2 separate regions of the Homo sapiens genome follow, and region 2 is linked to region 1. The links are contacts of gene promoters, found by promoter capture Hi-C in blood cells and fetal thymus (Javierre and others, 2016). All regions are on one chromosome and are shown on one strand. The core of a region is centred on a gene start or on the middle of the fragment in contact, and the rest is flanking DNA. Distances in the headings are between cores, read along the strand shown.

The links. Contacts are between HindIII fragments. The CHiCAGO score rates a contact against its expected background, and 5 or more counts as called.
Region 2: a contact is called between the fragment with the promoter of LRRC75A here and the fragment with the promoter of TRPV2 in region 1, in 1 of 17 cell types (neutrophils). The highest score is 5.2, in neutrophils.

Annotation. Positions count from the first base shown.
Region 1 is chr17:16,413,202-16,417,202 of GRCh38, reverse strand. TRPV2 (transient receptor potential cation channel subfamily V member 2) reads right to left here and starts at 1,632. Exons shown (of 15, transcript NM_016113.5): 1 at 1,370-1,632. RefSeq lists enhancers at 1-11, 352-401, 662-731, 1,682-1,801 and a silencer at 842-961. The HindIII fragment of the contact is 16,870 bases long and covers 1-4,001 here.
Region 2 is chr17:16,489,775-16,493,487 of GRCh38, reverse strand. LRRC75A (leucine rich repeat containing 75A) reads left to right here and starts at 1,295. Exons shown (of 4, transcript NM_001113567.3): 1 at 1,295-1,743. The coding sequence starts at 1,498. The region is part of intron 2 of LOC124903936 (a long non-coding RNA gene); the gene reads right to left. RefSeq lists silencers at 1,043-1,382, 1,473-1,522, 1,633-1,692. The HindIII fragment of the contact is 6,898 bases long and covers 1-3,346 here.

The DNA of each region.
Region 1 (4,001 bases), core at 383-2,882:
CAAGTAGGTCCACCCACTGTGTGGGAGCCCAGCCCCAATGCAGGGGAAGTGGGCCAGGAGGGATGAGCAGCAGGGGTGAGGAGAGGGAGGGAGGCCTGTGGGGTGAGGAACAGGGAACCAATAGGGCCACCCTTTTGATGTTGTCCCCCAGGAAGAGCCATGACTGTCCCCGACTTTTCCTCTGGGACTTCCTGGAATCTGAGGGGTCACAACCCCTGTTACCATTTACATTAACAGCACAACCCTTTCTTTACACAACGTCTTGCCTGGCAGCCAATATTCCAACAGATAAAAGTGCGATGACTGGGATGGGGCCAGTCACTCAACCCCTCGCCAAAGAAGGGGAGCTCTAAGAAGAAATAACTGGGAAAACCACTAGACTATCAAACCCTTCATTTTGCTGCCAAGACTACTAAGGCTTAGAAAGGGGGAGTGGCTTTCCCAAGGTCGCCAGTTGTTGGCAGAGCCGGATCTGACACCATGCGTCTACCATGACGTTCCTCTTCCGTTTTCAAAGCCTTTCAGGGTCTGTCTATATTTTCAGTCTGATTCAGCTCTGAAGGCATCGAATACTACCTTTGTGTGCCTCAGGGCCTCTGGGGGCTTCACGAAGGGAGGGAGGCCCCTAGCCTGTGGCCCAGGCTCTCTCCACCACGCTGCCTCAGGCCCTAGGCTGGCCTAGGAAGCTCAGCAAACAGCACAATCTCACCCTCACAGGAAAACTGAAACCACAGCCTCCATCACTTGGCAAGGGTGGGGCCTCGGTCAGGGTTGGGGAACCCTCATGGGCCCAGTGAGCAGGATCAGAAAGAAGAAGGAGTCAAAGAGTGGTAAGGAGACAGAAGGGTGGAGAAGGGGGCAGGGGGCAGGGGGCAGAGAGCAGAGAGGAGCGGCACCAGCAGAGGGAAGTGGAGAGGGTAGGCTGGGACCAGGCCCTGGGGACCCGGGTGGGGTATTTTCCCATGGAAACATGGGAGGTGGGGAGCTGCCTGGCTGCCTCAGTTTGCAGATGTGACCCACCACCCTTTCTACACACACTGGGGCAGAAGGGTGCTCTTTCCGTTTCATACCGTTTAGCCCATCTGTGTCCCCAACCAAACCCTGGCCCATTCCTCCAGCCCTAGACTCCCAAGCCCCAGCAGCAACAGTTGTCTGTCCAGCCCCCACCCCACCTCCTGGGACCCTCACCCACCCTGGCAGCAGAGGAAGGGGTGTGGAGGTCCAGGGAGAGGGTGCTGGAGCCCCACACAGACCCTGGCTCCAGGCTGTAGAAGCCAGGAGCCCACTAGGCCTTCCCCACCCCATCATTCACTGTCAGGCTTGGAGACCCGGCCCCCTCCAACGTCCCCAGCATTGCCCACCGACTTACCCCGCAGGCTGAGGCCAGGGCGTGGCGGCTGCTGGGATCCCGGAGCTTCTCAGTAGCAGGGGCTGCGGGAGGAAGTGAAGCCGGGAGGGGCTGCCGGCGCTGACAGCAGAGGAGCGGCGGAACCTCCCTCCCCAGCTCTGAGCACTAAGCTCCAGCAAGCAGGTTCTGGTCTCTCGGTCACCCTCAGCCCACCTGGCCAGCCGGCACGGTGGAGAACGGGAGCTTAACTCTCCCCTGTCAGGACAGGCTAGCCACCAGAGACTGACCATCTGGACACACCCTGCTGCGAATCAGGCTCCACCCCCACCCCTCCCCCTTCTAGCCACTAAGGTCTCAGGTGGGGGTGGGTGACACTCAGAGGCAGCCCTTGGATGCTGGGGACTTGCCACCCATGGAAGCTGCCATGGATGGGGGATTCTTCCCCAAGTCCACTGACAGCTATCTCCTCCCCTTCTCCACCACATGCCTTCCAAGCAGCCGTGTGGCCCATAAATGGGCCTGAGTTGACCCATGGCAGGGGAGAAAGCTGATGTGGACAGCCCCCAGGGAGAGGCTCAGCCCAGCAGATGCCCCTGGGAACACAGTCCCACCCACCCATCCACCCAGCAGTTGGGGGACTTTCCCACCTCCCAGGACCTTCTCCCAGCCTCCTGACCCCAGGACTCTGATGGCTAAAGTTCCCCTAAAGGTGCTCCAAGCACCAGCCAGCAGGTGGAGACAAGGAGGTGGGCACGCACTGCTAAAATCAGACCTCACCACCAACGGGGCCCTGGTCTGGACTCAGTCTTGGAGCTTGGGGACCCAACCACCACCGAAGTAGCCCTAGGAATCTCTCTCCCTCACTCCCAAAACCTGGCATCAGCTCTTCCTCCAAAATTTGTCTTTCTGAGTGGTCCAAGCCACTATCACTGCTCCCCTGGGCAACTGCAGCCACCTCCAAACTGGTCTCCCTGCTTCATTCTTGCCCCACACTCATAATCCATTTCTCCTTATAGCAACTGAAGTGACCTTTTAAAAATGGGAACCAGGGCCGGGCGCAGTGGCTCACACCTGTAATCCCAGCACTTTGGGAGGCCGAGGTGCATGGATCACTTGAGGTCAGGAGTTCAAGACCAGCCTGGCTAACATGGCAAAACCCCATCTCTACTAAAAATACAAATATTAGCTGGATATGGTGGTGGGCACCTGTAATCTCAGCTACTTGGGAGGCTGACGCAGGAGAATCGCTTGAACCTGGGAGGCGGAAGTTGCAGTGAGCTGAGATTGTGCCACTGCACACCAGCCTGGACAACAGAGCGAGACTCTGTGTCAAAAAAGAAAAAAAAAGAAAACCAGGTCACCTAACGCCTTGACTTAATCACAAAACCTCACCCATGGTGCTTGGAATAAAATGCAAACTCCATACCATGAGCCCTCAAAGTCCAGATGCCCTTCTCCATCGCTATCCGTCACTCATGGCAACCCTGTCATGCACATTACACTCTAGGCCTGCGCCATCCAATAAGATAGTCACTAGCCACAATGACTGTTTAGATTTAAATCAATTATAATAGGCCTCACGCTTGTAATCCCAGCACTTTGGGAAGCTGAGGTGGGTGGATCACCTGAGGTCAGGAGTTCCAGACCTGCCTGACCAACATAGTGAAACCCCATCTCTACTAAAAATACAAAATTAGTCCAGGCGCGGTGGCTCATACCTGTAATCCCAGCACTTTGGGAAGCCAAGGTAGGTGGATCACTTGAGGTGAGGAATTCGAGACCAGCCTGGCCAATATGGCAAAACCCCATTTCTCCTAAAAATAAAAAAAAATAGCCAGGCGTAGTGGCACGTGCCTGTAATCCCAGCTACTTGGGAGGCTGAGGCAGGAGAATCGCTTAAACCTGGGAGGCAGAGCTTGCAGTGAGCCAAGATTGTGCCATTGCACTCCAGCCTGGACAACAAGAGGGAAACTCTGTCTCAAAAATAAATACATAATAAAATAACAGTAAACATTCAGTTCTGCTGTCCCATTAGCCACATTTTAAATGCTCAGTTGGCACATGTGGCTAGTGGCTACCATATCGGATAGCACACAGATGACAAATTTTTCTTTTTTTCTTTCTTTTTTTTTTTTTTTTCTGAGACGGAGTTTCATTCTTGTTGCCCAGGCTGGAGTGTAATGGCACGATCTCAGCTCGCCGCAACCTCCGCCTCCTAGGTTCAAGTGATTCTCCTGCCTCAGCCTCCTGAGTAGCTGTGATTACAGGCATGCACCACCATGTCTGGCTAATTTTGTATTTTTAGTAGAGACGGGGTTTCTCTATGTTGGTCAGGCTGGTCTCAAACTCCCGACCTCAGGAGCTCCGCCCACCTCAGCCTCCCAAAGTGCTGGGATTACAGGCGTGAGCCACCGTGCCAGCCTGAGACATTTTTCATAAACATAGAGTTCTATTAGACAGCACTGCTCTAGACATTCTGAACACATTTCAGTCTCCCCAGTATGCCATGCCTCTTCTGTTCCACCTGCCAGGAACACACACACACACACACACACACACACACACTGCTCTTGATCTGATCTAGCCAACTCCTGCTCATCCATCATCTCTCAATTTAAGCATCACTTCCTTTAGATAGCCTTTCCTAGACCCT
Region 2 (3,713 bases), core at 46-2,545, 77 kb before region 1:
TCCTGAATAAAGTCTTCCTTACGATGCTTTAACTCATGTCATTAAATAATTTTTTCCTTTAGCAGTGTCCACCGAGTTTACTCTCCCAATTCTTGGCAGTGTTATTATCCTAGCCTGACAGGAAGAATCAGGACTCAAGAAGCTGAAGACTCGCCTGATACTCAGTGCTCACTAAGTAGTGGGGCTCAGCTCCCTGTGATTTGGGATCCAGCCTCCTGCCCCTACAGCCCACGTGCCCTTACACCCTCAAGCAACACCCAGAGCTGGGGTCAGAGGCGAGCTTGCACAATTGCTTCTGCCCTGCGCTGGGACCAGGGCGGCCTGTGGTCTGCAACAGAGAAGCTCCCCCACCTGCCTTCGCCTTCACTCTGGCAAGCCCTGGCAACACCATGAGATCCCAGGGCTCTGGTCCCTTACAGACTGGGCCTGGCAGAGGCACGGGGAGGAAGGTGGGCCAGCAGGGTGTACCGCTGGGCCTACTCGCAGACGTGCGTTTGCTTTGTTGTACCAGGACTACCCCAGGGACCCTTCTCCAGGGCTGTGAGAGTGAGAACAAGAGAACACAGGAGTTCACACCTCTCCGGTCCAGATGCTTTGAGAGCATGATGGAAGCAACAGGCCCTCTCCATAGAAGGGCACGCACACAACCCATAAGCTCGCACAGTTTCCAGGTTTACGCACCAACCACACCACTACAGCGCCCTGCAAGCAGGCCAGGTCTCAAAGGAGCGTGCATGGGAATCACCCAACATGCTGGCTAAAAAGGCGGATCCCAGGCCCCACCGAGGAGATTATCATTCAGTAGGTCTCGGTGGAGGCCTTAGAGCCTGCGTTTTTAACCAGCGCCTCCGACGATTTGGGCGCTGAGGCTCAGCGGAACCCACCTTGAGAAACCCGACTCTGGGCCTAAGAGAGCCCCCCAACACACACACCCCCATGCTCCAAACTTTCCCCATCTCGCCCGACGCACCGGGCGCGCGGTGGTGGAAGCGTCGGGGAGCCCGGTGGGGACCGAGAGCGACGGCCCATGGGGCCTGCCTGTTCCCCTCGCCCCCGCGCCACGGCCCCGGGAAGCGCAGCACTGCCGCCCGCAGGAGGCGCGACTGCCGAGAGGACGCAGGCAGGGGGCGCCTGGTGGTGGTCCCCAGCCCGGAGCCGCGGGGCGGGAAGGAGCGGGAGCCCGAGAAGAGGGAGGCGCGCGACGCCGCGGAGCTCCGGCGCGGAGGCGGGGGGCGGGGCGGGCCGAGCCGGGCCGGGGCGGGGCCGGCGGGCGGGCCGGCGGCGAGCGCCCGGGGAGCGCGCCCGGGTAGCCAAGAGGGAGGAGCGCGGGGAGCGCCGACAGCCGCCCGCCCGCCCGCCCCCGCGACGCCCGCGCGCAACAGTTCCCCCAAAGTTGCAGCCCGGGAGGCGAGCGCGCACGGGCGGCCGAGGGGCGGGCGGTTGGCGGGGACGCGGCCTCGCGGCCCAGAGCGGAGAGTCCCGGCGGGCGGCGGCGGCATGGGCACCCGGCAGACCAAGGGCAGCCTGGCGGAGAGAGCCAGCCCCGGCGCCGCGCCGGGCCCCCGACGCGAACGGCCGGACTTCTGGGCGTCGCTGCTGCTGCGCGCCGGGGACAAGGCGGGGCGCGCGGGCGCGGGGATGCCCCCCTACCACCGGCGAGTCGGCATGGTCCAGGAGCTGCTGCGGATGGTGCGCCAGGGCCGGCGGGAGGAGGCGGGGACGCTGCTGCAGCACCTGCGCCAGGTGAGCGCGGGGAGGGGGCGCGGGGGGCGCGCCGGGCCAGGGGGCGTGCTGGGCCGGGGGGGGCGCCCCATCCCTAACCGAGGAAGCCGGGGGCACCGAGGGGCACCGCCCAGGGGCCCCTTCCGCGGGGATGGAGCCCTGTCTGGCAGCAGGTGCCTCGGCGCTTCCGCTGAATGTGGGGCCTCAGGGCAGGGCGGAGGAAGGCTGGCCGGGTGAGGCCCGCCGAAGGGGACCTGTTGGCATAATGTCCCCACTGCTCTCCTCCGCAGGCAGAGAAGGAGGCTGGTCTCCGGGGACAGTCGGTGGGCGGGGAAGCAGGGATGCCTGCCTGATCTGGGCCAGGGCTCTTTTCTTCCTGTCTGCCCACTGGCAGTCACTCCCGGCCGAGGGTCCTCAAGGAATGCGGTTATCAGTTGGACCTGGCTTGGCTTCCCGAGAGCGAGTCCAGGGGCACAGCCCTGGGGCCAATGAGATTCCAGTCCCTAGGTCCTTCACTCGCCTGGGAGGCATCCTGGATTGTAGTTCAAGGAGGAGACTGTTTCCTCTCCCCTGACTAACTTCAGCAGATCCTCAACCATGAGCCCCTGCGGAAAGCGGTAGAGACAGGGGAGCTGGATTTGGTGCCCTGTGTGACCACCTGGCCAGCAGCAACTTCAGGAGACTGCCAGGACTCTGTCCTTAGCCTGTGCCTGTCCCACTGGCTAGGGACAGATGTTGCGGAATTGGCCAGTTCCCTCTGCTTTGGGGCTGCCCTGAGGCTAATGCTATCACTCACCTCTCTGTGGCTTGTTTTCCTTTGTCAGTTTCTTTGGTGGGGAGAGGAGCATGGCCCATGCCATGGATTTTGTTGAGTATAAGACAGGCAGGGGAGTGCAAAGCTGCTCTCCTGCATCACCAAGCAGGTTGTCTTGGCCTGGCTTTGGTGGGTAGACAATCCAGGCCCCATATTCTTGCTAGACTGACCCCATTAGAGGTGGAGTCTACCGTGGATGGCAGAGGGAAAATCTCAGGTGACCTTTCTGGGGTTTTCCAGTCGCTGCTGAAAGAGGCTGTAGGAGCACCTTCTTGGGAGGAGCTTCCAAAATCTAATCAGACCCACATCCCTCTTGGGTTCTGCAGCACTCTTCCCCACCTTTGTATCTGGTGCGCTCTTACCCTAAAGTATGTGTCCCCAAGCTGTGCACTGCACAGGGAGAGGCAAGCAGAGACGAGGGGACTTGGGAAGATGTGGGACTTCTGCTTCTGCCTCTGTTTTCCCCAACAACTTCCAGAATGATGCCCGAGACGCTGCTGGATCCCCATGTGCCTTCTCTGAGTTCAGTCATCAAAGAAAGATGACATTATGCACCACTGAACTTTAGCAGTGTGTATTTCTTTGTCTTTTGAAAATTGGAAGCTGACATATGGCCTTTATAGTAACTCTTTCACTTTTAAACAGAATATTGGGTTTTCCAGACCATGGTATCCTATTTACACACCATACAGTAAGGTTTTCCTGATCACATGCTGTTTCCCCCACCCTGCAATGGGTGCTTTGGGGGATACAGAAGAACAGAGGGAGCTGGCAAGCACTTCTTGGAGGGTGCAAGACCAGAGCGAAGCTTGCATGATGGAGGGCCGCTTGGAGGCCCACGGGAGGAGACTGGACCCAAAGTGGGCAGATACTTTGGGCTCCCCAGTCCCTGTAGGGCTGAGTGTGATTCCACATCCTGGGGACACTGAGCTTCTCCCTGCCTTGAGGGAGAGTAGATAAGCCCCTGCAGCCCCACTGTGGGATCCTTGAAACAAGAAGCATTTCCTCAGACATCTGCACATGGGTCTTATTGGTGTCCTGGTACCCGCCTCAGCTGCAGGACTGGGAGGGCTGATGGGGGGGTGGGAGGGGGCTTATCAGACTTCCCCCTTTTCTGTGAAAGCAGCAGGTCCTCAGGCTCTGGGCTTCTGGGCTCCTGTTGGGCTCCCTTAACCCC